Linked DNA regions of Homo sapiens: regions 2, 3, 4, 5 and 6 are each linked to region 1. Evidence: promoter capture Hi-C in 16 types of primary human blood cells and fetal thymus (Javierre and others, 2016). All regions are on one chromosome and are shown on one strand. The core of a region is centred on a gene start or on the middle of the fragment in contact, and the rest is flanking DNA. Distances in the headings are between cores, read along the strand shown. Region 1 holds the start of CNFN (cornifelin). Region 2 overlaps GRIK5 (glutamate ionotropic receptor kainate type subunit 5). Region 3 overlaps POU2F2 (POU class 2 homeobox 2). Region 4 overlaps GRIK5 (glutamate ionotropic receptor kainate type subunit 5). Region 5 holds the start of RABAC1 (Rab acceptor 1). Region 6 overlaps POU2F2 (POU class 2 homeobox 2).

Region 1 (4,700 bases), core at 1,183-3,682:
TAATTTGAATTTTAGATAAATAACAAATACTTTTTTAGTATAAATATGTCCCAAATACTGCATGAAACATGCTAAAAAACCTGTTTGTTGCTTATCTGAATTTCAGATTTTACAGGACAGCCTGTATTTTATGTGGCAACCCTGTTTGAGGAGGATGTAGGCCAATGCCTGGTGACTGGGCCACCATCACTCCTCAGCCCCCCAGGAGCTCCTCCTCCTGCTCACGGCCCTCCTCACCCCCAAGCAGGCCACCTCACAGCTTCCCCAGTCTCTATTTCCTCACCTGCATGAATTGCTAGATCTAATTGGGGCCCCCAGGCTGTGTCAGGAGTGAGAGAGGAAACTTGAGGACAACTCAGAGTGTCATGCTGGGAGCCCTGGGGTCCTCGGAGATGACTGACCTTGAGTCACCTGCACCCTTAGTCTGGACAGCAGGGGGGATGGGGCCCTGTAGCTGCCTCCACAGGGCAGGTCTGGAGATGAACAGAGATGGGAAGCGAGATTCAGAAGAGATTTTGACATAGGAGACAGAGACCCCGGGATAAGGGCACAGAGACACAGAGCCTGGAAGGAGAGGGACCCAGAGATGGAGAGACAGAGATTTGGAAAGAGATTTGCAGAGATGAGGAAAGAAAGACAGATTCACAGCTGGAAAGGTGAAGATGCAGGGTGAGAGACGAAGATTCAGAGATGAGGAGACAGGGATGTTAGGACACAAGTGAGGAGATGTCCCCCAGACATCCAGGCTCTAGGACCAATGACGGACGTGCACCGGCAAGACAGTGAGCGCTGCCGGGAGTTCTGGGGACAGGAAGACCCAACCATCTGGGTGGTGCTGGGAGACCAAGGCTTGGGTCCTAATGTGTTGGAGGGAGGGAGGGAGGGAGGGGACACCTGGGATCCCAGCTAGCAGGGTGATCCACCTGCCATCACCCCATACCCGGCGGGGTGATGACACCACCTTCTCTGCAGGTGACACCCCAGTTTTCTAGTGCCTCCTACATTTTTGGGGTGACACCCGTGCTGAGAACCCCACCCAGCTCTAATGCTGCTTCCCTCACTGAGTCACCTCCCAACCCCGTCAGGCCTGTTGGGGGGAAACTTTGGCGATTCAGGCACCCAGACCCCCAGCTCCTTCCCTGCTCAGGAGCCCAGCAGTGTGGAATCCCAGGACCCCTACCCTACTGAGGGATGTGCAGCCTGGCCTCATGAGACGCAGGAGTCCAGGGCCCCAGCCCCTCCTCCCTCAGACCCAGGGGTCCAAGCCCCCACTCCTTTGCTCCATTAGGACCCAGGAGTCCCAGGTGACGTCCACGTCCTTCAGGAACTGCGGCTTTTCAGTTCCCAGCCTCCTCCCTTCCCAATTTGGAGCTGGGGTGAGGTGTGTTTATTTACTTTGGTTCCAACATGAGTCATTCCCCAAAACACACTGCCCCCCATGTGTCTCCTGGCTTGAATGGGGAGGACACTGTCCCCCTCTCCCAGGAAAGTGGGGATATCACTGAGAGAGATGAGCGAGACCCTGAAAGGGGAGTCCCACACAGCACTCTCTCCCACTCCACCCGGCCTTTTTCTCTCCCCACCCATCACCTCTCCCCATTTCCCTGCCCTCTAAGCCTGTTCAGTGATCCCCCCACCTGCCTCTCCACTTTTCCATCTCCGTCTCTCTTCTGTCTCCCATCTCCCCTTTTCTTTCCTTTTTTTTTTTTAAGACAGGGTCTTGCTCTGTCACTGAGGCCGGAGTGTAGTGGCGGGAACACGGCTCACTGCAGCCTCAAACTTCTGGACTCAAGCGATCCTCCTGCCTCAGCCTCTCAAGTAGCTGGGACTACAGGCACATGCCACCATGCCCGGCTAATTCTATTTGTATTTTTTGTAGAGATGGGGTATCCCTATGTTGCCCAGGCTGGTCTTCAACTCCTGGGCTCAAGCGATCCTCTCACCTCAGGCGATTACAGGGTTGGGATTACAGGCGAGAGCCACCATGCCTGGCCCATCTCCCCTCTTCTTGTTATTTCTTTTCACATTTTTGTGCCCCTCTGTTTCTTGGCACCTCTCCATCTCTCTACATCTTCCTGCGTCTCTCCATCTCTCTGAATCTCCTCTCTCTCCTTTCTGTCTAGAGGGACTTCCCTGCCTGCCTTTCTGACACTGTGTTTCTGTCTCTCCCTCTCTTTTGGTCTCTGCGCATTGACCCGGCTGTGGCCCCCCGCCCCCGCCAAACCTCCCACCCCCCGCCACCTTCTTTTCCCTGGGTCCTGGGAGCTGAGGCAGGAGGAGAAGTGGGGGGATGGGAGTGGAGAGGGAGGGCGGGAAATCCCAGTGTGGGGAGAGGGTCGATCAGACCGGCTTGGCTCCCTGGGCACCTCTGTCAGAGCCCCGCCCAGGGCTGCGTGGCCGCCCATATAAGTGGCTCTGGGCTGAGACGGAGAAGTCAGTGCCCGTGTCTCCACACGTCTGCCTCCATCACTGCCATCGCGATCCTGCAGGTAGGAACATCCCCTCCGCAGCCCTCTTCTTTGAGGTTGGGCGCCTCTGCTCTGTTCTCCCTCCTCCTCATCCCACTCATATCACTCTGTCTCCTTTCATATCGCTGATTGTCGGTCTCTCGGGACATCTCTGTCCTTCCCAATGCCCCCAAATCTGTCCTTCTTAACTGGGGTGTGCTGAGCTGAATTTAGAAGTCTTGGGGCCCAGCATCACCTCTATGAACCCCCTTGGCCTGGGCCGTCAGACGTGGGGCGTTCCTCCTCATGTCTCTGAGCCTCAGTGCTCATCTGTGAGATGGGCTTGCAGAGGAGTCAAAGTGCTGGGCACATGTGGGCATTACTGGTGACATCTCTACGGGCACCTGGCTCTGATCTTTCTCCCCTTGTCTCTGACTCTGTCCATCTCCATTTCTTGTTCTCCCTCAAGCTCTATCTCGGGTATGGGGAGGGTCCTCTGCAATCTGTCGGGCAGTTGGAAAGACATGGGCGAGTTTCTCGCCCCCGCCCTATCCATTCCCTATTCCATGTCTCTCCTGGTTGACAGGCTGACTTGGCCTCTTTCTCCCCAGCTCCCCTCCCCCTGAGAGCCCAGCCCCCAGTGCCCCAGTCCCTTGCCCCCACCTCCCCAGTATCCAGCGTCCCTTGGACAGACTCTGCCACTGTTGCCACAGCCACTTCTGCCGTCCCCAACGCCACCTCCTCAGGGCCAGCAAGATGCAGTTTGAGATGCACGACAACGTGAAAGGCAAAGGTGGGACCGCTGGGTGGACCAGCAACCCTCTCAGTACTGGAACCTGGCCGCCTCCCTCCCCTGGGCACCCTTGCTTCGAAGACAGACGGCGCCTGCTTCCACCCCAGAGGCCCCAGAAATGCTGCAACCCAGAACCCAGGCCCAGACGTGGAGGAGGAGGCGGCACCGCCAGGCCCCACCCAGATGTGGTCCCCACCCTTCCTCAGATGTGCAGGAGACCCCCACCCCCAGCCTAACCAGACGTGCAGGAGCCAGCAGCAACAGGGACAGACTGGGGTTGCCGGTGCCCAGATGTAGCAGAAGGGAAGGGGGAGGCACAGTGGTGTCCCTTCAGTGGGCGGCCTGGCGGCCCCGCCCAGACTGCCCGGCACAGGGAAGGGTGGCCGAAGTGCGGGGCCCAGGAGATGCTGCGAGGCTGCCAGCTGACCCCTACCCTCCCACCTCTGCAGCTATGTCCTACCCTGTGACCAGTCAGCCCCAGTGCGCCACCACCAGCTGCTACCAGACCCAGCTCAGTGACTGGCACACAGGTCTCACGGACTGCTGCAACGACATGCCTGTCTGTGAGTGCCTGCCTGCTCCCTCTCCAGGCCTGGTGGAAGATGGGTTTGGGGGGAATCAGGAGAGGGAAGCTCACCTCCAACCTCCTCCCACCGCTTGCTAACCCCACTCCCACCTCCCTTCCCTGGACTTGGAATTCCCACTCTAACAGTCACCCTTTCCTCAGACCCCCAACACTCCTTAGGATACTACCTCATGCCTTCCCACACTCAACTTATCAGGCCCTCAACCTCCCCTTTGCATGCTCAGCTTTCCTCACTGTGACCCCCAACTCCCTCTTCAAACCCTAGCTCCTGGCCCAGTGCAGTGGCTCATGCCTGTAATCCCAACACTTTGGGAGGCCAAGGCATGACAATCCCTTGAGGCCAGGAATTCAAGATCAGCCTGGGCAACATAATGAGATCCCCATCTCTACAAAAATAAAAATAAAAAATAGGTCGGGCGCAGTGGCTCACGCCTGTAATCCCAGGACTTTGGGAGGCCATGGCAGGTGGACCACAAGGTCAGGAGTTCAAGACCAGTCTGGCCAAGATGGTGAAACCCCGTCTCTACTAAAAATACAAAAAAAAAAACCGGGCGTGGTGGCGGGCGCCTGTAAACTCAGCTACTCGGGAGGCTGAGAAAGAGAATTGATTGAACCCGGGAGACAGAGGTTGCAGTGAGCCGAGATCACGCCACTGCACTCCAGTCTGGGCAACAGAGCGAGATTCCGTCTCAAAAATAAAAATAAAAAATAAAATTAGCCCGAGGTGGTGGCACACACCAGTAGTCCCAGCTACTCGGGAGGCCGAGGCGGGAGGATTGCTTGAGCCCAGGAGGTCGAGGCTACAGTGAGACATGTGATCACACCACTGCACTCCAGCCTGGATGACAGACCGAGACTTTAATTTCTTTTTCTT
Region 2 (5,017 bases), core at 1,208-3,707, 380 kb after region 1:
TCCTCCCTCCTTGGCCTCCCAAAGTGCTGGGATTACAGGCGTGAGCCACCGCGCCCAGCCTTTTTTTTTTTTTTTAAAGATAAGGTCTCAGCCTGGCCAACGTGGCAAAACCCCATCTCTACAAAAAATACAAAAATTATCTGGGCATGGTGGCGGGTGCCTGTAATCCCAGCTATTCAGGAGGCTGAGGCAGGAGAATCGCTTGAACCCGGGAAGCGGAGGTTGCAGTGAGTCGAGATCGCGCCATTGCACTCCAGCTTCAGCTTGGGACAGAGCGAGACTCTATCTCAAAAATAAATAAATAAATAAAATAAAAAAATAACGATAAGGTCTCACTTAGTCATTCAGACTAGAGTGCAGTGACGACCAGGCTCAGTGTAGACTTAAACTTCTGGCCTCAAGTGATCCTCCCACCTCAGCCTCTCAAGTTGCTGGGACTGTAGGCAGGCACCACCACACCCATCTAATTTTTTTATTTTTCTGTAGAGACAGGGTCTGGCTATGTTGACCAGGCTTATCTCAAAGTCCCAGCCTCAAGTGATCCTCCTGCCTCGGCCTCCCAGTGTGCTAGGATTACAGGCATGAGCTACTGTGCCTGGCCCAAATTCCCTCATCTTTTCTGCTGCCGGTGTCTAATCTGTGTAATCCCTTTCAGTAAAATTTTTCTTTCAGATATGTGTATATCATTCTCTAAAAGTTCTGTTCACTTCTTTTTATATCTTCTGTTCCTTTCATTACGTTCATGTTTTTCTTTATACTCTTGAGCATTCTGAATGTATTTATAATAGCTGTTTTCATGTCCTTGTCTGCTAATTCCGTCATCATCTATGTCAATTCTGGGTCTGTTTCAATTGAGTGATTTTTCTCTTGGTTATAGGTCACATTTTCCTGCACCTTTGTTTACCTGGTCCTTTTTTTTTGAGGCAAGAGTCTTGCTTTGTTGCCCAGGCCAGAGTGCAGTGGTGATCTCGGTTCACTGCGACCTCCACCTCCTGGATTCCAACGATTCTCGTGCCTCAGCCTCCCAAGTAGCTGGGATCACAGGCGTGTGCTATCACACCCAGCTAATTTTTGTATTTTTAGTAGAGACGGGGTATTGCCATGTTGGCCAGGTTGTCCTTGAACTCCTGGCCTCAAGCAATCCGCCCACCTCAGCCTCCTAAAATGCTGGGATTACAGGTGTGAGCCACCGTGCCCAACCTGGTATTTTTTTAAAAAATTATGTAATAGGCCGGGCACAGTGGCTCATGCCTGTAATCCCAGCACCTTGGGTGGGCGAGGTGGGCAGGTCACCTGAGGTCAGGAGTTCAAGGCCAACCTGCCAACGTGGTGAAACCTCATCTCTACTAAAAATACAAACATTAGTCAGGCGTGCTGGCAGGTGCCTGTAATCCCAACTACTCAGGAAGCTGAGGCGGGAGAATCACTTGAACCCGGGAGTGGCCAAGATCACACCACTGCACTCCAGCCTGGGTGACAGAGTGAGACTCTGTCTCAAGAAAAAAAAAAAAATTACATAACAGACATTGTTTACATTGCTGAATATATTTTTTTACAGAGTATTTATAAACTTTTTCTGGAATCTAGTTAGGTTACTTGTGAATTACTTTGATACTTCTAGGCCTGTTTTTAAGCTTTTTTAGTGCAGCTTTAGCATTGCCTTTATTCTAGGGCTAACTTAATCCTATTTCTAGTATGTTACACTTTTGGGTCTCTACTGAATGTCTCATGTATTCAATGAAATCTTTCTACTCTGGCTGCAGGGAGCTCAAAAGACTCTCAGCCCTGTGTCAACTCTAAGAATTGTTTTCTCCTTGAAAGTTGCTCTTGTCCAGCCCCACAGAGTTTCACCCCATGCATGCACAGATTGATATTCAGCCAAAGACTCAAGGGGACCACCGGTTTCTGAATCCTCCCTCTCTTTGCAGCTCCCTCCTCTCAGGCACTCTATCCCCCAAATTCCAGCCATGTTGGCCTGCCTGATCACCAGTCTCCGTCTCTGCAACTCAGCAGGATTGCTGGGCTGTTTGGGCTTCCCTTCCTATAAATTAAATCCAGCCAAGCAGCCTGGACAATAAGACTCATTTTGTTTCTCTTCTCAGGGATCACAGTTCTATGATGTCTCTTGTCCTATGTTTTAAATAGTTTCCTGGCCGGGCGTGGTCGCTCACTCCTGTAATCCCAGCACTTTGGGAGGCTGAGGCAGGTGGATCACCTGAGGTCAGGAGTTCGAGACCAGCCTGGCCAACATGGTGAAACCCCGTCTCTGCTAAAAATACAAAAATTAGCCGGGCGTGATGGTGGGCACCTGTAATCTCAGCTACTTGGGAGGCTGAGGCAGGAGAATCACTTGAACCCCAAAGGTAGAGGTTGCAGTGAGCTGAGATCGTGCCACTGCACTCCATCCTGGCTGACAAAGCAAGATCTGTCTCAAAAAAAAAAAAAAAAGAAAAAAGTTTCCTGTATTCTATCCAGCTCTTTAGCTGTTTATGGTGGGAGGGTATTTCCAGACCATCTTACTCTTTTATATCTGGAAGTAGAAGTCTCCGGATGCAATATTTACAACCAGGAAGTCTGGCTTCAGAATCCACACTCCCCGCTTCTGCACCCAGCAGTCACTGAGTCTTCCAGATGCTGGGGTCACTTGGGAGGGGCACCACCAATGGGGGGCATGGCCACGGGGGCAGGTCAGCAGGGGTGACTCCAGCCCGTGACTCACCCCTCCCACCCTTCAGGTGGGCCTTCACCTTGATCATCATCTCCTCCTACACGGCCAACCTGGCCGCCTTCCTCACCGTGCAGCGCATGGAGGTGCCTGTGGAGTCGGCCGATGACCTGGCAGATCAGACCAACATCGAGTATGGCACCATCCACGCCGGCTCCACCATGACCTTCTTCCAGGTGGGGCCACCAGAACCTCTCAGGCGTGGTGTTGGGATCCCTGCCATGCAAAGCAGCTCAGGATGGGTCTGGGCAGGGTCTCCTGGGTCAGAGGGACTGATTGTCAGTGACAGCCTGGAGGCTGGGGAGCAGAAAACACACATGTGCTGTCATGGGGCTCGCAGCTGGCTGGCTAGGGAACTGGGGAATGAGGGCAGGGAGGCATATGTGGTATCAAATGTCAATGTCATATGGGCCAAATGGGATCAAGGAGGCTGCTGGAAGGGTCGGGACCAGGAATATGGGCTGACAGAGAGAAGGGAAGGCCCTTCAAGGTGAAAAGTGCTTGATCTTTTGTATTTTGGGGTGGTGGGAAGGAAAGAAGAGGAAAGCAAGCTTGGCAGGGAGGTCCTAGTGGTCTAAAGGAGGCCTGAGTTGGGCAGCGGCCACCGGCTGGAGGGTTAAGGGGAAGGAGGTGGAGGTGCACTCACCGGGCCCCCCAGGTGGGTGGTGGGCACAGTGGCTGTGGGGATGACTTGGACCTGGCCTGGACAGTTTGTCCATCTCCTCTCTCTCCTCTACCTTTGGCTCTGTCTTCCTTTGATCACCTTGCATTCTCCTGGGTTGAGGGAGACTTCCTGGAGGATGGGAAGGGCTCGGGGAAAGGAAGCGGCTGGAAAGACCCTCCCATCTTCCCCTTGTGATCCTCCTGCCCAGAATTCACGGTACCAAACGTACCAGCGCATGTGGAACTACATGCAGTCGAAGCAGCCCAGCGTGTTCGTCAAGAGCACAGAAGAGGGCATTGCCCGCGTCCTCAACTCCCGCTACGCCTTCCTGCTCGAGTCCACCATGAACGAATACCACCGGCGCCTCAACTGCAACCTCACCCAGATCGGGGGACTCCTCGACACCAAGGGCTACGGCATTGGCATGCCGCTGGGTACGGCACAGCACGGTGTGGAACACAGCAGGGCCGTGGGCATCCAAAACCACCTGTGAGCAGGCCCAGGACCGGGCCAGGCACCCCCGAGGCAGGCTGGGTGTGTTGCATGTGGCCTCCTGGCTGTATGGTCTTGGGCAGGCGACATCACCGTCCTGAGCCTCTGTACCCCCAACCTGCAAAACCAGGCCTAGCAGCAATCCAGCCCTCCCAGAGCTGTTGGGAGAATTCAGTGAGACTGTGTATACAATTCAGTATATGTGGGTGGTGGGGCTTGCTGTCTTCCCCCAAGGGCCCTGTGGGGGTGAGGACCTGGTCTTGTTTCCTATTTCTTGGAAAAATCCTATAGCCTGGCTCAGAGCAGGTGCTTGAAAAATGCTTGTAAGATGGATGGGAAGGATGGAATGATCTGGTAGGGAGACTTGTATGTGCCTATTTATATTTCAGGACAAGTTTGGTGTTTTGTTTTTTTTTTTTTTTTTTTTGAGACGGAGTCTTGCTCTGTCGCCCGCCTTGGCCTCCCAAAGTGTTGGGATTACAGGTATGAGCCACCTCGCATGGCCCAGGACATGTTTTTCCAGGACTCAGTGGTGGAACTCACGACCAAATTGTCACCAAATTTTGGCATTTTGGCTTTTAAAATCATTTATGTACTGATGACACCTGTATTAGTTATCTATTACTGCATAGCAAATTGCCCCAGATCTTAGCAGCTTTGTAGGTGAGTCGGTGCCAGGGAGGCAGTGTAGCTTGGTGCTTGGAGGACAGGCTCAGGAGTCACACCGACCTGGATTCAAATCCCAGTTCCGGCTGGCCACTGTGGTTTATGCCTATGATTCCAGTGCTTTGGGAGGCCAAGCCGGAAGGATCACTTGAACCTAAGAGTTTTGAGACCAGCTTGGGCAATATAGCAAGACCCTGTCTTTACAAAAAATTAAAAAATTAGCCAGGTGTGGTATGCACCTGTAGTCTCAGCTACAGGCTGAAGTAGGAGGATCGCTTGAGCCCAGGAAGTGGAGGTGGCAGTGAACAATGATCATGCCACTGTATGCCAGCCTGGGTAACCAAGTGAGATTCTGTCAAAAGAAAGGAAGAAATCTCAGTTTCCTCCCTGACTCAGTGCACAGTCTTAAGCAAGTGTATCACTTTCGTCATTCAGAAACACTTGCCTCAGGTGGGATACCTGTCCCACAG
Region 3 (4,586 bases), core at 1,809-4,308, 280 kb after region 1:
TGTACCTCTGTGTGATACAGATGAAGGGTGTGGGACCCAGAAGCCACTTATTTGACCTCCCAGGTGCCCAGTGGGAGTATTTTCCTTTTTTTTTTTCAGAAATGGGGTTTCACCATGTTGGCCAGGCTGGTTTCAAACTCCTGACCCCAAGTGATCCGCCTGCCTCGACCTCCCAAAGTGCTAGGGTTACAGGTATGAGCCACCGTGCCCAGCCACTCTTTTCCATTTTACAGACAGGAAAACTGACTCTCAGGAGGGGAAAAGTGCTCTGCAAAGGCGACTTCTGTAGGGAGTTTGGGTGCAGGTGTTGTGTTAGCCCTATCTGATTGATGAGGAAACTGAGGCCAGAGGAGTGGTTTGAAGCTCCCAGCGGTCAGTGCAGGACCACAGACTGCACCCTCATGTCCACACCCCAGTCTGCTCCTCCTGTGCCAGCCTGATTGCCATTGCCACACACGTGCCCTCTCTTTGGTTCACAGGTGGGCATTCTCTCTGGCCTCCACTTAACATTCTGGGGTCCCGGACCCTGCCTCTCTCCCCCCCAGATCAAGGCTGAAGACCCCAGTGGCGATTCAGCCCCAGCAGCACCCCTGCCCCCTCAGCCGGCCCAGCCTCATCTGCCCCAGGCCCAACTCATGTTGACGGGCAGCCAGCTAGCTGGGGTAAGTACTTGGGGAAGGATGGGGACGAGGGGACAAACCAGCCACCCCTCATCTGTTACAGGGCTAGTGGATGAACTGTTCCACCAAGGCCATGGCCACTCTCTCACACCTGCCTCTTGCCCTCTTCTGTCCTCTAGGAGGTCTTGTCCCCTTACTTGCTTGGCTTAGGCACTAACCCCTCTCTGCCTTCTCTGCTCCTCTTCAACCCCTTGCTCCAATTCCTGCTGTCCCCGACACCCCGCAGCTCACGGCACTGATGCCAGCTCAGCAGCAGCTCCTCCTGCAGCAAGCCCAGGCCCAGCTCCTGGCCGCCGCCGTGCAGCAGTCCAGTGCCGCCGCTGCCGCTAACGCCGCTGCCGCCGCCGCCGCCGCCTCCGCCTCCTCCTCTACTTCCTCCTCCTCCTCCTCCTCTGCCTCCTCCTCGACCTCACAGCCCCCAGCCTCCTCTGGGGGGGGTGACCTGCCACCACCACAGCCTGCCAGCCAGCCCCCTGGGACCCCACAGCTCACCTTGTCCCAACCCATCCAGCTCACAGCACAGGTAAGGGCAGCCACTGGGGACCAGGCTCCCTGCAGTGAAGGACATGCAGAAACAGTGAGTGTGTGGGAAGGGGCTGACTGGTCCACATGGACTGTTCTGACCACCAGCCACATGCCAGGCAGTTCCTAGCAACCCTAGGAAGCTTTGGAAGATGTTGCTGTCCCATCTTACAGAGGGGTAAAGTGAGGCTCACAGGGAGGAATATCCCACATCATAATCCTCCCTCTGGTGGTGTGTTGGGGGCAGTGCTTCCTGTGCATCTCGCTGGGAGTTCACAGCCTCCTGGGAGGTTGAGATTGTTGTCCTCAACATACAGGTAAGGAAACCAGGAGTCACTCTCGTGAATGGTACCATGTGGGTACAAAACAAAAGGTTAAGAATAAGAATGAGTGCCCTACCCTCATCGTGTCCCCTGGCTTATCCAACAAGATGCTCTTTCAAAAAAGGGGCCCGTGATCTATGAATTAGGAGGTTCTCCATCACCTCCCTGACTCTGGAGCTTTTGCTGGTCCATAGTTAATCATGAATTAGTGGCTGTCTCAGTTTCCTAGGGCTGCCGTAACATAATACCATAAACTGGGTGGCTTAAGGCAACAGAAACATATTGTCTCCAACCACAAGTCCAAACTCAAGGTATCGGCAGGGCCGTGCTCTCTCTGAAGCCTCCCAGGGAGAATCTGTCATTGCCTCTTCTGGCTTCCGATGGTGCTGTCAATCCTTGGTGTTCCATAGCTTAGTAGATGGCTCACTCCAATCTCTGCCTCCTCTGTCGTCACATGGCCATCTTCTCTCTGTGCACCTGTCTCTGTATTCAAATTTTTCTTTCTTGTAGGGACACTAGTCATTAGTTTAGGGCCCACCCCATTGACCTCATTTTAACTTGATTACATCTGCAACCCTATTTCCAAATAAGGTCACATTTACAGGTACCAGGAGTGAGGGCTTCCACATATCTTTTTGGGGACACAATTTAACCCCTAACAGTGGCCAACAGAGTTCCCATAAGGACAGCCGGGGGAGCAGAGTGGGAGCTGAGTAGGCTTCCTCTTCCGAAGGGCAGCTGTCTCCAGCCCACTCCTGTCCACCCCTTCCCATGTCACCCATTCATGTTGTCTGTCTGGTTTTCACCCATTCATGTTGTCTGTCTGGTTTTCATAAGCCTTAGAGCTGTGGCCAAGTTTCAGGGCAGTGAAGGTCGTGGGAAGCCCTACAGCAAAGCCACCTGTTTAACTTCCCTTAGCCTGGCGTTTCCCTCAGTGACTGCTCCACAAAAGGCTTTTCTCTCACTCCGTCCAACCACTTCCACAGAACCCTAGATATAGATGCTGTCCATGCAGGGAGCTGTCCAGCCCTGGTAAGGCTGTTCCCTTGTTACAGTTCACCCCAATAATGGCCCGTTCCATTATTGGCCAATGCTCCCATTTGGGACTTTCCTTAACACTGAGCTGATAACCTGCCTCCTTAGAACTTCCTTCCACTGGGCCTGGTTCTGTGGAGACACTCTGTAAACTGGGCGCATGGCTCCGTGATGGCTCTTGTAGATGTAGCCTTTTTTTTTTGAGATGAGGTCTTGCTTTGCTGCCCAGGCTGGAGTGCAGTGGCGGATTATGGCTCACTGCAGCCTCGACCTCTTTGGGCTCAAGTAATCCTCCCACCTCAGCCTCCTGAGTAGTTGGGACTACAAGTGCATGCCACCACACCCAGCTAATTTTTTTATATATACATATTTTTTGTAGAGACAGGTTTTTGCCATGTTGCCCAGGCTGGTCTTGAACTCCTGAGCTCAAGCGATCTGCCCACCTTGGCTTCTCAAAGTGCGGGATTATAGGCATGAGCCACGGTGCTCAGCCCAGATGTAGCCTTTCAATACCTGGCTCTTGAAGTAACAGTAACTAGTCTGTTGGGTGCCACCTTTCTTCCAGGCACCATGCCAGTGATGGCCTCTTTGCTCCCATGAATCCTCCCCACAGCTGAGGCTCCAAGGGGTAAAGTGACCTGCCCCAGATTATTCTGTAAGCATGAGTGTTAGAGCCGGCCTGGAAGTCCAGGGCTCTAACCACATGATCCGCGGCTGCTGCTTTTAGCTGTCCTTCACGGAACATGGTTTCTAGCCCCTCCCACCCCGGCCACCAGAGACTCCAGCAGCAGGTGTTCCATTTGCCTTGTAGCATAGACAGCCCTTTACTGAGCAACGCCAAGGGCTTGGGGCTCTTCACTGGGGCTGAGCTCTTTTGCATCTCAGTGGCCCTGCTCTTGTTCTCTCTTTTCCCGGGAAGTCTGCTCCCTTCCTTTACCTGGACAGTTCCTCTTCATCTGAGCCCCAGCCCAGGAGTCCACACCTCTAGGAAGTCATGATGACTTCCCTCCCCCCAGCCGTGCCTGAATCTGCTCGAGGAAATATCAGTTGAAGGAACAAAGACTAGAGGATAGAAGGCAGAACAGGGCAGCCTAGCGCAGACCCAGCCAGGCCACCATCTCTGTGAGCAGCAGACATTCTTGCCTATGCACTCCTAGAGCCACCTCCCCCAGCTCCCCAGGGACCCAGCAGCAGCAAGCTGAGCCTCCACCACCTGCCGTATAGCCCAGGCCCTGATTGTCAAGGGCTCCTTAAACCCCTCCTCCTTTCCTCTCACTCCTCCTTCCCCAGCTTCCCTCAGCTCTGATCTTTCCCTTTCTGTCTTCAACAAGTGCAAAGCTGGGCCAAGTTTGTTTTCTGGGAATTCTCTCTCACAAACTGAGTTGCCCTTTGACGTCATTTCTACAACAGCACCTCCTATGGGCACTGTGCTGGGCCCAGGCTGCAGAGGGACCAGCTCTTCCTGACTTACCTACCCACTGCTCCAGCCTTCCCCGGCTCCTAGGCTCGGATGTCTCTCCCGGGCCGCATCTCATGACCTCCACCCCCCAGTCCACTTCTCATGCCTGCTAAGCTCTGATCCTGCAGTCATTCCACAAACATTTCCTGGCCTCCTGTGTGTCAGGCCATGGCAGGAAGCTGAAGACTTAGGAGTGAGTCACAGCCATCCTTGCCCCTGAGGGGCTCCCCGTCCTGCAGTGGAGCAAGCACATCAGTGAGCCACTAAGAAATGTTTCACTTGAAAGATACTAAGAAGCCCAGGAAAGAGAGTAAAAAACACTCATAAATGCTATCCCTTTGAAATTATATAAAGTACCAAGGAAAAGCCCCCCTTCCAGCCCTCTGATGTCAGCTTCCAAAGTAAATGCTGGTTAAACAGTTTGGCAGGATCCTTCCCTGCAATCTCCTAGCTTGTACAGACGAAGGGGCAATTATAATACAGTTCTATAATTTGTCTGTCCATTGCTCAGTGTGCTGCCTTCTGCCGAGGGGGCTGTGTGGATATTTACCGAATCAATGAGGGATG
Region 4 (4,715 bases), core at 480-2,979, 360 kb after region 1:
CCATTGTGTGGCTCAGCATGAATTATTTACCATATCCCCTATTGATGGCTATTTGGATGGCTTCCAGCTTTGCTAGCATAGCCAGTGTCATGATAAACTTGGCCTGTGGATTTGTGGGAGTGTTCCTGAGGGATACATTCCAAGAAGTGAAAGTGCTGGGTCAAAGGGTATAAATTTTTTCTAAGTGTATACTGCCAAATGGCTGTTCAAAAAGGCTTCGCCAATTTATATTCCTACCAAAGTGCATGAGAATGTGAAATTTCCCATACTCTTGCCAACAGTCAGTGTTACCAATCTCTAAAATAAAATCTTTGCCCATCTCAAAGGCCAAATATAATATCATTGTTTTAACCTAAACAGAATGTTACTTGGCTGCATAGTAGTAATTCCATGTGGATGTACCATAATTTATTTAGCCATTTTTCATAACTAGTTGTTTCCAGGTGTTTTTATTGTTTGTGCTCTTATAAATAATCATTAACAAACATCTTTTTTTTATTTTTGAGATTGGCGTCTCACTTAGTTGCCTAGGTTGGAGTGCTGTGGTGCCATCACAGCTCACTGCAGCCTCAACCTCCCCAGGCTCAGGTGCTCCTTCCACCTCAGCCTCCTGAGTAGCTGGGACTACAGGTGTGCACCACCATGCCTGGCTAATTGTTTTGTATTTTGTTGCCCAGGCTGGTCTTGAGTCCCTGGGCTCAAGTGGTTCACCCATTTTGGCCTCCCAAAGTGTTACGATTACAGGCATGGGTTGTTGCACCTGGCCAACAAGCATCTTTATGCACAAAAGCTTTGCCTGCATTGCAGCCTATTTTCTTAGGATTGGTTCTCTGAACAGAATAACTGGGTGGAAGAAGAATACCCTTTTTGTGGCTTTCGTGATATTTTGTTGAATTATTTTCCAGAAAGACTACAACAGTTTCTATATAGGCTCCTTCTCAGCATTGAGTGTTTTTATCGGCTTTTAGCTACTTAGACAACTCCCTGTCATTTTCATGGATGGCATATCATTTTGATTTTTCCTGCTTTGACTGGTAGACCACACAGTGGGACTTATGTGGTCAAGTGATTGGTGGAATCTGAGCCCAGGTTAACTCAGAAGGGGCCTGATGGGGCCATGGTCCCACCCTGTGTTTTCCCAGTTCTTGGTTGTATAACTGGAATAGACACACATGGTAGCTGGCAGAATCCCACGTTGGCGCACTGACCCATGGAGTCAGGGCCATTATGGTAGAAAGAGCCACGTGGAAGCTCCTAGAACTCCCTGTCTTTCCCAGAATAGTAATTCAAAAGCAATTCTCTATCCTTTGTGCAAATTGTGGAAATTAGTGTCACCATTAACGGCTTGGAAGAAGCAGGGGTAGTGATCCCATCTACATTCAGCTGGCCTGTTTGGCCTGTACAGAAGGCAGATGGATTTTGGAAGAATGACTTTGGATTATTGTCAACGTGATCAGGGGTGACTCCAATTGCAGTTGCTGTCCCAAATGAAGTTTCTCTATTGGAGCAAGTCAGCACAGCCCTTGGCAGCTGGTGTGAGCTACTAACCTGGCAGATGCTTTTTTCTCCATACCAATTTCCAAGGGCTACCAGAAGGCAAGGTTCACATCTTCACAGTCTTGCTCAGTGTGACATCAACTTTCCCACTTTCTGTCCTGATTTAGGCTGCAAAGAACTTGAACTCTACAGTCCACATAGCCTCACACTGGTCCCCTACATTGACAACAGTATGCTGATCAGATCTGATGAGCAGGAAGTAGTTGAGTCAGTGCAGTTGGCATTAAACCTGGCAGATGGCAGTCTGGCAGGGTCCAGTCTGGCAGGGTCCAGTCTGGATACAAAACAGCGCCGGTTGCCAGATGCAGTGGCTAATGCCTGTAATCCCAGCACTTTGGAAGGCTAAGGCAGGAGGATTGCTTGAGCTCAGGAGTTCAAGACCAGCCTCAGCAACATAGCAGGACCTTGTCTCTACTAAACATTAAAAAAAAAAAAAATTAGCTGGGCATGGCACATGCCTATAGTCACAGTTACTCGGAAGGCTGAGGTGGGAGGATCACTTGAGCCTGGGAGTTCGAGACTACAGTGAGCTATGATCACGCTGCTGGACTCCAGCCTGGGTGACAGGGCAAGACCCTGTCTGAAAAACAAAAACAAAACCCTGGCTGGGCACGGTGGCTCGCGCCTCTAATACCAGCACTTTGGGAGGCTGAGGTGGGTGGATCACCTGGCCAACACAGTGAAACCCCATCTCTACTAAAAATACAAAAATTAGCCAGACTCAGCGGCACGCACCTTTAATCCCAGCTACTCAGGAAGCTGAGGCACAAGAATCGCTTGAACCCAGGAGGCAGAGGTTGCAGTGAGCCAAGATCGTGCCACTGCACTCCAGCCTGGGCGACAGCGAGACTCTGTCACAAAAACAAAAACAAAAATAAAAACAAAACAAAACCCAGCTCCATTTACTTGAATAGAATCATATCAGTTATTTGAATAGAGAGTATTTAGTATAAAGAATTGTTAACTAAATGTAAAGTTGTTAACCAGCTAACTTAAGGGGTAAAAAGAAAACTAAGAGGTCATGGCAGTAGCAACGGCAGAAAGCAGCTACCACACTTAGTCCTTAAGGGACAAGTAGAAGAGTTTGAAAGATGAAAACTTAGAAGCTTAGAGGAGGGCCCCACAGAGCTGAGACAGACTGCTGAGGAGGGGGTGCTGTTTGGTTGATGATGTGACATTTGGTGGACTTTTTGGATTTTGGTGGCAACTCATACCACATTGGGATGTGCTACTTCAATCCATTTACTTTCCCTACAGCCCGTAAGGCTTTTTTCATCTGGAGTGAGGTCCAGAGCATCAAAGACTCTGCAGCCAGTCCAGGCTGCATGCGAGCTGATCTGCCACCTGGGCCAGATGTAACCAGCAGATCGGGAGATTCATTCGCAAAGTATTGATGGCAAATAGGAATGCTGTATGGAGCCTTGAGCAAGCACCAGTGGCTAGCTCATGGTGCAGACCTCTAGGGTTTTTTTGTTTGTTTTGAGACGAAGTCTCACTCTTGTCCCCCAGGCTGGAGTGCAGTGGCGCGATCTCGGCTCACTGCAACCTCAGCCTCCCAAGTAGCTGGGATTACACAGGCGCCTGCCACCAAGCCTGGCTAATTTTTGTATTTTTAGTAGAGACGGGGTTTCACCATGTTGGCTAGGCTGGTCTCAAACACCTATGCTCAGTTAATTCTTAAAAGTTTTTGTAGCAGCCAGGCTCGGTGGCTCACGCCTGTAATCCCAGCACTGTGGGAGGCTGAGGAGGGCGGATCACGAGGTCAAGAGATCGAGACCATCCTGGCCAACATGGTGAAACGCCGTCTCTACTAAAAATACAAAAATTAGCTGGGCATGGTGGCACACGCCTGTAGTTCCAGCTACTTGGAAGGGTGAGGCAGGAGAATTGCTTGAACCCAGGAGGCGGAGGTTGCAGTGAGCTGAGATTGCGCCACTGCACTCTAGCCCAGCTACAGAGCAAGACTCTGTCTCAAAAAAAAAATTTTTTTTTGTAGAGATGGGGTCTCACTGTGTTGCCCAGGCTAGTCTTGAATTCCTGGGCTCAAGCAATCCTCCTTCTTTGGCTTCTCAAAGTGCTGAGATTATAGACATGGGCCACTGCACTGACCTAGCCAGCTTTTTCTGGCCAAGAGTGTAAGTATTTTCAGCTTTAAGGCCTTACTGTCATAACTCCTTAGCTCTTCTGTTGTATGGAAAGTAGTCATGGACAATATAGTGGGCATCACTGTGTTCCAATAAAACTTTATGTACAAAGGCAGGCAGATGGGCTGGACTTGGCCCAAGGGCCATAGCTTTCCCACCCCTCACTCTCAGGTGTCATGGAGGTATCATGGCAGGAAGTGGCCACATCCCTAGTTCTGAAGGAAGAAAGGGAAGAGCTGAAACTCTTGGAAACTTAGAGGAAGGGCTCTGTGGAGCTGAAAGTCAGACCCTGGGGAGAGGTGCTTACAGCTGGTGCTGGGTTCTGGAGAGAGGCTGGATGAGATGGGTTTGTAGATATTGGGAAGCTGCACACCGGATTCATCTGCTGCCAGGAGAAGAAACGATGCTGCCAGGAGGGGCAGAAGGTGGCTGGGGTGGGAGAGGAGACAGGAAGGAGCAATCCCTCTTCCCTCCTCAGTCTGGCAACCTCCCGCTAGCGCCCCCTATTGGCAGAGCCTGGCAGGGCGCAGCAGGCAAAGCAGGAATATGGTTTACACAGAACAGGGTATACAGGATGGGTTGGGAGCTGAGGGACTATCACAAGTGCTTTGATTGGCTTTGGGCATTTAGATGACACCCCCCCCCCATCATTACAGGTGACTTGTCATTCAAATTCTTCCTGATTTCATTTCAGAGATTAAATAACTGTGAGGGGGCCCGTCAGGGTAGGGGCTAGAGGGTATATGTCAGGGTGGGGAAGTCATCTCTAAGGAATAGGTCTTTTACCATGCATGGTGGCTTACGCCTGTAATCCTAGCACTTTGGGAAGCCAAGGTGGGAGGATTGCTTGAGCCAAGGAGTTCAAGACCAGCCTGGGCAACATAGTAAGACCCCCGTCTCTACAAAAAATGAAAAAATTAGCCAGGCGAGGTGGCACACACCTATAGTCCCAGCTACTCAGGAGGTTGAGGTATAGGAGAATCGCTTGAGCCCAAGAGTTTGAGGCTGCAGTGA
Region 5 (4,441 bases), core at 103-2,602, 430 kb after region 1:
TCACACCTGTAATCCCAATACTTGGGAAGGCCAGGCAGAAGGATCGCTTGAGTCCAGGAGTTTGAGACCTACTGGGCCAACACAGCAAAATCCCTTATCTACTTAAAAAAATTTTCAAAAAAAAAAAGGTCACCTGGTTATCCCATATAGATATTTTCCTTCCAGCCCCACCCAGCTGCTTTGGAAAATTAGGATCCCAGTCTGCTTAAGGGAGCCCAGGCTTCCCTATACTTCCACACACATTTCTTGAGGCCCTGTTCTGGTTCACCCCATTAGAATTCAATTAGAATTCCAGCCCTGTGGGCCAGGCACAATGGCTCACGCCTGTAATCCCAGCACTTTGAGAGGCTGAGACAGGAAGATCACGAGGTCAGGAGTACGAGACCAGCCTGGCCAACATGGTGAAACCCCGTCTCTACTAAAAAAATACAAAAATTAGCTGGGCGTGGTGGCGGGCGCCTGTAATCCCAGCTACTCTGGAGGCTGAGGCAGGAGAATCGCTTGAACCCAGGAGGCAGAGGTTGCAGTGAGCCGAGATTGCGCCATTGCACTCCAGCCTGGGCAACAAGAGCGAGACTCCATTTCAAAAAAGCCCACAAAACTTCTCAACCTTTTGTCTTTCCCAACTTCACTCCCTTCTCTCCAAAGGTGTGTGTGGCGGGGTCGGAGGTGTCCCTAGCCCCAACTCATTCATCTTTGGGACTCCACAAGGTGGGGCAGGGGGCAACCTCAGATACCCCTCCAGCAACCATGGCCCCCTCACTAGCCTCAATCTCTTGAGGAAGGAATCAATTCCCACAAATTATCTAAATCTTTCTACTCAAAATGTAGTCCATGGACCAGGGGCATCAGCATCACCTGGGAACTCAGAAATGGAAATTATGGGCTCCACCCCAGACTTGCTGAATGAAAACATCTGGGCTAGGGCCCAGGAATCTGTTTTAGCAAGCCCTCCAGGTGTTTTTTTATGCCCTCTAGAGTCAGAAGGACAGCTCTGCACGGTCCCCATTGTGCCTTCCCTGGGAGAGTACACAACGCCCGCTTCTGCCGTTAGAGTTCCCATAACGCCCTCGCTCCTGACAGCCCACATGCACCCTCCTGAAACTACAACTCCTATAATACCCAGAGGCGCGCGCCGTCACTTTCTGGGATTATATCTCCCAAGGTGTTTTGCGAGTCAGACCGCCATCATAGCGCCCATCCTCTTAGTCACCGTCAGGACTACAACTCCCACAATACTCGGCGGCAGAACTACAGTCCCCAGCTGCTCCGGGGCTGCGCCACGTCGACTCCGCTGGGTGGGGCCGGCGTCGGGCGGGGCCGGCGGGGTCTTCAGGGTACCGGGCTGGTTACAGCAGCTCTACCCCTCACGACGCAGACATGGCAGCGCAGAAGGACCAGCAGAAAGATGCCGAGGCGGAAGGGCTGAGCGGCACGTGAGCGAGCTGGCTCTAGGCCCTCGGACCAGAGACCCGGGAGTCCGGGCCCCCGGCCCCCTCCTCCCTCCTCCCTCGAGAGCCTGGAGTCCCAGCCCCGAGCCGCAGAAGTGTTGGCCCCGGTCTCCTCTAATGGGACCCTGGAGTCTGGGCCCCTAGTCCCCTCCCTGCCTGCTGTACAGGAATCTGGGGTCCCGGGAGGGAGTCCAGGCACCCTTAGTCCCCTTCTTTTGCGGGGGTCTGGGGCTCCATCCCGGTCCACCACTGACCCGGCCCCACCCCCCGCAGGACCCTGCTGCCGAAGCTGATTCCCTCCGGTGCAGGCCGGGAGTGGCTGGAGCGGCGCCGCGCGACCATCCGGCCCTGGAGCACCTTCGTGGACCAGCAGCGCTTCTCACGGCCCCGCAACCTGGGAGAGCTGTGCCAGCGCCTCGTACGCAACGTGGAGTACTACCAGAGCAACTATGTGTTCGTGTTCCTGGGCCTCATCCTGTACTGTGTGTGAGTGCCTCCCGGGCCCCGCACCCGCACTAGCCCCGACCGGCTGGACCCCTCCTCTCGCCGCTCAGGCCCCGCCCTTCACCGCCCGGTCCCTCCTCTCACCGCCCAGGGCCCTCTTCTCACCGCCCAGGCCCCGCCCCCAAGGATTGGCTCTGCTAGACTACCTTGTCACCAAAGGGCCAGGTCCCCTACCCCACCATCACCCTGGCCAGGATGCAGTGTGACTAAATGTCACCTGGCCCTCCCTGGTCTCCAGGATGTAGCTTGCCGCCCGCCGGTGGAGAAGGCCAGGGCCGTCGGGCTGGCCCAGCCCCAGCTGTCTAACCGCTGCCTCCCTGCACTCCTCCTCCAGGGTGACGTCCCCTATGTTGCTGGTGGCTCTGGCTGTCTTTTTCGGCGCCTGTTACATTCTCTATCTGCGCACCTTGGAGTCCAAGCTTGTGCTCTTTGGTGAGAAACCCCCTGCCCAGATGAATCCTTGGTCCCTCAAATCTTGGTCTTTTGGAATGCAGACAGACCTCAGACCCCAAATCCAAGTCCTTCAAAACCCAAGTCCGCCCAAGCCTAGATGTACACTAGATCCCCCAAACCTGATCCCTTAAAATCTCAGACACAACCGATCCTTCCATCGAGTCTCAGCCCCCTCAAATTGCTATTCCTCAAACCCAGGATCCACCTGGCTGCTGTGCCTTAAACCTACTCCTTTTCAAACCACATGACTCCTCCCCTCTCTCTCCTCCCCTTGCCGCTCTCTGCGGCCAACATCAGCTGCAGGTGCCCACACTGGACACCAGGTGGCCACCTTACACTGGCCTAGATCTGTTCCCGTTTCTTTTCCTGCTTTCTGGGGTGTGACCAGAAAGAACTTGGAACTTAGAGAGGGAAGCCGAGGAGTATGTTTCATGTGGTTCCCAGACTAGTAGTACCAAGGACCACTGGGAAAACAAAATGCCAGGGGAAATTCCCCCCAGGGGAAAATCAAGGTTTGGAGTGGGGTCAGGGAGTTGGGATTGGACAGTTAGGTAGACCTGAAGGCCAGGCTCTTCAGGGGCCTGCAAGTTATGTGCTTGATGGGCTGGGGTGGAGGGAGTGCCTGAAGCACAGGCACGACTTGGCTTCAGCTGATCACCGTCACCAGAGCATGTAGACCCCATCCCTGAGACTTCTATGAGAAGCCTGAAGTTGGTATTTTTATGTGAAATCGTTCACTTTGCCAGCCACAAATCACATCCTTGCAAAACAGCTCAAAAAACACATCCACAGGTCAGATTTGGCCCTTGGGCCACCAGTTTGAGACCCTGGTCTGCGCGAGGGTTGCAGCAGGAGAGCCCTAGTCTAGGGAGCAGGAAGCCGGGATCCCAGGAACTTCCTGGAGGATGTGGGGCAGAGGGCAGAGGGTGGGGCTGAGGCAGGCGAGGACGGTGTGCTGTGTTCTGGAGGGCAGTGGGGACAGCAGGGGAACAGGGTGACCCCAGGACCTGGAGGGCCTTGGCATGAGGAGTTTGGATTCGATCCCGAGAACCTGGAGCTTGTACGGATTGTTGGGGGGCAGCAGGGGTTACTCTGGGAGAGGGCATGGAGAGTCGGAACAGCACCCCAATGCCATCTGCCCCCAGGCCGAGAGGTGAGCCCAGCGCATCAGTATGCTCTGGCTGGAGGCATCTCCTTCCCCTTCTTCTGGCTGGCTGGTGCGGGCTCGGCCGTCTTCTGGGTGCTGGGTGAGTACAGGGTCTGAGCAGCTGGGGTGGATGGTGGGAGCCAGGTGCAGGAGTGTGGCCCTGAGCTGCCGGCTTTCCTGCAGGAGCCACCCTGGTGGTCATCGGCTCCCACGCTGCCTTCCACCAGATTGAGGCTGTGGACGGGGAGGAGCTGCAGATGGAACCCGTGTGAGGTGTCTTCTGGGACCTGCCGGCCTCCCGGGCCAGCTGCCCCACCCCTGCCCATGCCTGTCCTGCACGGCTCTGCTGCTCGGGCCCACAGCGCCGTCCCATCACAAGCCCGGGGAGGGATCCCGCCTTTGAAAATAAAGCTGTTATGGGTGTCATTCAGGAAATATTCCCCCAGCATCTTCTGTGGGTCTCTATGGGTGGAGCTGGGAATACTGCACAGAGCAGGGTTGGGGTGGAACCTGGGGTGTGGGCAAGACGATGACAAGGTAAACAGGTAAAATATTATGGGATGCCCAATGGTGGTGAGTGTTCAGGAGGAGAAAAGAGTTGAGAAGGACAGTGTGCCGGGGGTCCCCGAGACCACCCCCAGGTTTGATGGTTCTTTAGGACTCAGGAATCAGAGAGCACCCCAGGTTTGATGGTTCTCTGGGACTGGGGACTCAGTATGCAATTGCACTCACAGCTCTGATTTACTCTCATCAAAGGGTATGGAGCCAAGTCAGCCAAAAGGAAAGGTGCATGGAGTGAACTCGGGAAACCAGGCATGCACTTCCAGAGGCCACACCTAATTCCTCCAGCAGTGGATCATGGTGACGTGTGAAATGTCAGCCAGGG
Region 6 (5,039 bases), core at 614-3,113, 290 kb after region 1:
ATTGAGACCATCCTGGCTATCATGGTGAAACTGTCTCTACTAAAAATACAAAAAATTAGCTGGGAGTGGTGGCGGGCACCTGTAGTCCCAGCTACTTGGGAGGCTGAGGTAGGAGAATGGCGTGAACCCAGGAGGCGGAGATTTCAGTGAGCCGAGATCACACCACTGCACTCCAGCCTGGGCGACAGAGCGAGACTCAAAAAAAAAAAAAAAAAAAAAAAAAAAAAAGAAAGAAAGGGTAAATAAAGAGTGAGCCCTCCCAGGACTGCCCAGTTGGGACTCTCTGGTACCCCATGGTAGAGAGAAGCCTCTGGGTGCCCTTAGCTCAGGGATGCCATTCAGAGACCGAGTGGACGATCCCTCACTGCCCAGTGCCAGATCGCCATGTGGAGCAGCTTCCTGGTTTCAGCCCCTCAAGGTTCAGGTGATGCAGAGAGGATGAAACCCAGCCAGGACTCAGGCTATCTTTCTGTCCACCCCACTCCCTGCCAGGACATACAGCAGCTCCTCCAGCTCCAGCAGCTGGTGCTTGTGCCAGGCCACCACCTCCAGCCACCTGCTCAGTTCCTGCTACCGCAGGCCCAGCAGAGCCAGCCAGGTAAGGCCCCCACCCCAGATGGCCTCCCTGACGCCTCCACAGAACTTCCTCACCTTCCCCTCCCCCTCACCCTGTGTATTTCCCCTTGTCTTTCCAGGCCTGCTACCGACACCAAATCTATTCCAGCTACCTCAGCAAACCCAGGGAGCTCTTCTGACCTCCCAGCCCCGGGCCGGGCTTCCCACACAGGTGAGACTGTCCATTGAGTGCACCAGGCCAGGCCAGCAGCAAGGCCTGCTGAAAGCTGGGTAAACGGGGGTGGGGGATGAGTGAGAGTCTCCTTTCCATTTGACCCAGCCACACTCTGCCAGTGATTTGCTGTGAGACCTCAGGCAAGCCCATCTCCCTGTCTGGGTCAGCCTCTTCCTCTATAGAATGAGGGGAGCTGGCCCAGACAAGTGGTTCTTAACCCTTTCTAGTACATGAGCTCCTTTGAGAATATGATGAAAGATTTAGATCTGATCCCCATTCCCCCAAAATGCTCATGTGTAAAAACACACAAAATTGCAAGGGGCTGCAAGCCTTTAGGCTGCAAATGCCTCGGGCCTCTTCCAGCACTGCAACGGAGGATTCTCTGAACAAGGCATTCGTTAGGTGATTATTTCACATCCACTTCCCAGACTGGAGACTGAAAACAAGGCCCACAGGTGTCTTTTATTTGGTCATTGTCAACTAAATTCCCAGAAAGCACCACATTTCCAGCTCCTCTTGATAAACCAGAAAATCTGGCAGGGCTGTACCTGTGTCTACGTGGTGGCTTGGCGCAGTGAGCAGTTGGCCTGGCCACTGGCAGGAGCAGAGGCCCCTTAGAGAGGGTGCCAGCTCTCCAGGCCACCTTGGCACCTGGACCCCGAGGCCTTTCTTTCAGTTTGCTGCCTGAGTTCTAGACTTTAATGATAATTTTCACTACCTTTTATGAATTTCAAAGTTTTTTTCTACCCATTTTTTATAGCCCTTTAAAAAAATATATGTGAACTATTTCAGAAGGACTGACTGAAGAGTTAGAGACTAATACAGGTCTTAACTGCAGTTCTGAAATCCCAAATGCTCAGAAAGTCAAGTTGTTCTTCCACCATTGGCATGAGAACTCATTTGACTGCAAAACCTGCCCTGCCATGATATAAGCCAGTGTATGACTTTTCTTTGTCCCTCTTGGTATGGCATTTTTGCTGCTGCAAAACTGTTACTGTATCTGATTAAGGAGTAATATTCTTGACCCTAGTGGGGGTGGGGGCCGGGCCACATTATCTATGATATACATCCTATGTAGGCTTTCTTTCTTTTTGTTTTTTTTTTTTTTTTTGAGATGGAGTCTCGCTCTGTTGCCCAGGCTGGAGTGCATTGGCTCAATATCAGTTCACTGCACCCTCTGCCTCCCAGGTTCAAGCGATTCTCCTACCTCAGCCTCCCAAGTAGCTGGGATTACAAGCATGCGCCACCACACCCAGCTAATTTTTGTATTTTTAATAGAGATGGGGTTTCACCATGTTGGCCAGGCTGGTCTCGAACTCCTGACTTCAGGTGATCCACCTGCCTCGGCCTCCTAAAGTGCTCGGATTACAGGCATGAGCCACTGTGCCTGGCTGCCTATGTAGGTTTTCTGAAAACTGAAACAGGCACGGTGGTGCATGCCTATAGTCTCAGCTACTTGTGAGCCTGAGGCAAGAGGATCACTTGAGCCCAGGAGTTTGAGGCCAGCCTGGGCAACATAGCAAGACTGGTCTCTAAAACAACAACAACAACAAAACCTGAGAGGGGTGAGAGTGGGTGGATGATGAGAAATTACTTAATGGGTACAATGTACACTGTTTGGGTGATGGATACACTAAAAGCCTACGCTTCATCACTACACAATACATTTGTGTAACAAAATTGCACTTGTATCTTTTAACATTTTGTTTTTTGTTTGAGACAGGGTCTTACTCTGTCACCCAGGCTGGAGTGCAGTGGTGTGATCACAGCTTACTGCAGCCTCAGCCTCCTGGGCTCAAGTGAAGCAGTCCCCAGCCCTCCTGAGTTGCTGGTACTACAGTCACGCCCCACATGCTTGGTTAATTTTTAAAATTTTTGTAGAGATAGGGTTTCGCCATGTTGCCCAGGCTAGTCTCAAATTCCTGTGCTCAAGCGATCCTCCCACTTTGGCTTCCTAAAGTATTGGGATTACAGGTGTGAGCCATTGCACTCGGCTGTCCTTAAATTTATACCAAAAAAAAAAAAAAAGGCAGGGCGCAGTGGTCACCCCTGTAATCCCAGCACTTTGGGAGGCCAAAGCGGGTGGATCACCTGAGGTCGGGAGTTCGAGACCAGCCTGACCAACATGAAGAAACCCCATCTCTACTAAAAATACAAAATTAGCCGGGTGTGGTGGCGTATGCCTATAATCCCAGCTACTCGGGAGGCTGAGGCAGGAGTATCACTTGAACCCAGGAGGCAGAGGTTATGGTGAGCCAAGATCGCACCATTGCATTCCAGCCTAGGCAACAAGGGTGAAACTCCATCTCAAAAAAAAAAAAAAAAAAAAAACTGAAAAATTCCTAAACATCTGCCCCAGCATTTTGGAGAATAATGGATAAAGGACCTGAGCGACAAACATCCCTGTACCCACCACCTGCTTCATATCCTTTATTGTTAGGGCAATGAAGAATCCCAGATAGAGCTGTTGCTTTTTTGTAAATCTCTCTAATTGCCCTCCCAGTCCTTTTTTTTTTTTCTTAACTTTTACTTTATTTGCAATCTACTCATTGCTTAGGACTTAATTTCTTAAGAGCTGTTTTAGATTCACAGCAAAACTGAGTGGAAGATATAGAGATATCCCATCTATCTCTGCCCCTACACATGCACAGCTTCCTGCATCATCTACATCCCCAACCAGAGTGGTACAAGCGTAACAGGTGATGAACCTACATTGACACATCACTATTACCCAAAGTTCATAGCTGACATTAGGGTTCACTCTTGGCATTGTACAGTCCATGGGTCTGCACGACCTACTCATTTTTAACCCGATTCTCTCAACAGCCCCACTGGGTAGACAGAACAGCAGTGATTGTTCCCATCCTGCAGAGGGGGAAAGTGAGGCCTGGGCTAAGCAGTGATTTGGTGGCAGGGCCAGTCCCTGATTCCCAGGTTGAGATGAGGATGAACCACTGCCTCCAGCTCCAGGGAAAGAGCCCTGGCACAAAAAGCTGGCTGCTCCTTCTGGGAGTTCGCAGGCGTGAAGGGACAGTGCAGAGAGTCCCAGGCAATGAGGAAACCCATGTAGGGCAGCAGAGTCGGACCTTTAAAGGGATTAACAGTGCATGTGGAGGGACCTTTAAAGGGATTGACGGTGCTTGTGGAGGAAGGCGGGGGGAGTCTGCAGGCGGCGGATGGAACGCAGGGGCGAAGAGGGCGGGAGGGGGACTGTGCACCCATCGCTGAGCCCCATCCTGGTCCTCCGCCCTGCATCCCACCCACCTGCCCACCCCACCAGGCCGTGACCCGCCCTACGCTGCCCGACCCGCACCTCTCGCACCCGCAGCCCCCCAAATGCTTGGAGCCACCATCCCACCCCGAGGAGCCCAGTGATCTGGAGGAGCTGGAGCAATTCGCCCGCACCTTCAAGCAACGCCGCATCAAGCTGGGCTTCACGCAGGTCTGGAGGCACCTTGCAGGCTGGGCGGTGGGCGTGGGGGCGTGGCCAGTTGATAGATGCCGCGAGGGGCGTGGCCAGTGGGCGGGCGGAGCGGGCCCAGTGCCGGAAGGCCCCACCCTGACTTCGGGCCCTTCCCCGCCCCACTGGCCCAGGGTGATGTGGGCCTGGCCATGGGCAAGCTCTACGGCAACGACTTCAGCCAGACGACCATTTCCCGCTTCGAGGCCCTCAACCTGAGCTTCAAGAACATGTGCAAACTCAAGCCCCTCCTGGAGAAGTGGCTCAACGATGCAGGTGGGACCAGGCTGGGGTTCCCGCGTAGGGGGCGGGCAGTGGCCGCTGGCCGCGGGAGGCCCCTTCTCATGCTCACGTCTCCCCCGGCGCACAGAGACTATGTCTGTGGACTCAAGCCTGCCCAGCCCCAACCAGCTGAGCAGCCCCAGCCTGGGTTTCGACGGCCTGCCCGGCCGGAGACGCAAGAAGAGGACCAGCATCGAGACAAACGTCCGCTTCGCCTTAGAGAAGAGTTTTCTAGCGGTGAGGCCCCCCTCTCCTGGGTGGCCCTCACCTGAGGGGTGGCGGGCGGTGGGCCTCGGGCTAACGAGCCCTCTGCCTGCAGAACCAGAAGCCTACCTCAGAGGAGATCCTGCTGATCGCCGAGCAGCTGCACATGGAGAAGGAAGTGATCCGCGTCTGGTTCTGCAACCGGCGCCAGAAGGAGAAACGCATCAACCCCTGCAGTGCGGCCCCCATGCTGCCCAGCCCAGGGAAGCCGGCCAGCTACAGCCCCCATATGGTACCAAGAGC

Evidence for each region. Contacts are between HindIII fragments. The CHiCAGO score rates a contact against its expected background, and 5 or more counts as called.
Region 2: a contact is called between a fragment that was not itself captured here and the fragment with the promoter of CNFN in region 1, in 1 of 17 cell types (naive B cells). The highest score is 5.2, in naive B cells.
Region 3: a contact is called between a fragment that was not itself captured here and the fragment with the promoter of CNFN in region 1, in 17 of 17 cell types (naive CD4 T cells, naive B cells, fetal thymus and 14 more). The highest score is 21.3, in naive CD4 T cells.
Region 4: a fragment that was not itself captured here is called in contact with the fragment with the promoter of CNFN in region 1 in 3 of 17 cell types (erythroblasts, naive CD4 T cells and naive B cells); the score reaches 6.5 in erythroblasts.
Region 5: a contact is called between the fragment with the promoter of RABAC1 here and the fragment with the promoter of CNFN in region 1, in 3 of 17 cell types (erythroblasts, total CD4 T cells and fetal thymus). The highest score is 6.8, in erythroblasts.
Region 6: a fragment that was not itself captured here is called in contact with the fragment with the promoter of CNFN in region 1 in 15 of 17 cell types (fetal thymus, neutrophils, naive CD8 T cells and 12 more); the score reaches 13.0 in fetal thymus.

Annotation. Positions count from the first base shown.
Region 1 is chr19:42,388,029-42,392,728 of GRCh38, reverse strand. CNFN (cornifelin) reads left to right here and starts at 2,432. Exons shown (of 4, transcript NM_032488.4): 1 at 2,432-2,489; 2 at 3,690-3,803. The coding sequence starts at 3,692. The HindIII fragment of the contact is 9,287 bases long and covers 1-4,700 here.
Region 2 is chr19:42,004,529-42,009,545 of GRCh38, reverse strand. It overlaps GRIK5 (glutamate ionotropic receptor kainate type subunit 5), which reads left to right. Exons shown (of 20, transcript NM_002088.5): 16 at 2,736-2,901; 17 at 3,598-3,823. Among named protein-coding and RNA genes, the nearest start is that of ATP1A3, 13 kb to the right of the region's middle. The HindIII fragment of the contact is 1,642 bases long and covers 1,637-3,278 here.
Region 3 is chr19:42,113,326-42,117,911 of GRCh38, reverse strand. It overlaps POU2F2 (POU class 2 homeobox 2), which reads left to right. Exons shown (of 15, transcript NM_001394376.1): 5 at 480-662. Among named protein-coding and RNA genes, the nearest start is that of POU2F2, 17 kb to the left of the region's middle. RefSeq lists an enhancer at 3,442-3,601. The HindIII fragment of the contact is 3,421 bases long and covers 1,348-4,586 here.
Region 4 is chr19:42,027,902-42,032,616 of GRCh38, reverse strand. All of the region lies in intron 12 of GRIK5 (glutamate ionotropic receptor kainate type subunit 5), which reads left to right. Among named protein-coding and RNA genes, the nearest start is that of ATP1A3, 36 kb to the right of the region's middle. RefSeq lists an enhancer at 1-635. The HindIII fragment of the contact is 1,873 bases long and covers 793-2,665 here.
Region 5 is chr19:41,956,232-41,960,672 of GRCh38, reverse strand. It overlaps RABAC1 (Rab acceptor 1), which reads left to right and starts at 1,352. Exons shown (of 5, transcript NM_006423.3): 1 at 1,352-1,436; 2 at 1,725-1,937; 3 at 2,290-2,387; 4 at 3,554-3,655; 5 at 3,739-3,990. The coding sequence starts at 1,381. The coding sequence ends at 3,827. RefSeq lists an enhancer at 975-1,264 and silencers at 1,375-1,624, 2,075-2,144. The HindIII fragment of the contact is 29,553 bases long and covers 1-2,376 here.
Region 6 is chr19:42,095,275-42,100,313 of GRCh38, reverse strand. POU2F2 (POU class 2 homeobox 2) reads left to right here. Exons shown (of 15, transcript NM_001394376.1): 6 at 493-598; 7 at 696-787; 8 at 4,071-4,232; 9 at 4,385-4,526; 10 at 4,621-4,769; 11 at 4,852-5,028. Among named protein-coding and RNA genes, the nearest start is that of ZNF574, 22 kb to the right of the region's middle. The HindIII fragment of the contact is 9,200 bases long and covers 1-5,039 here.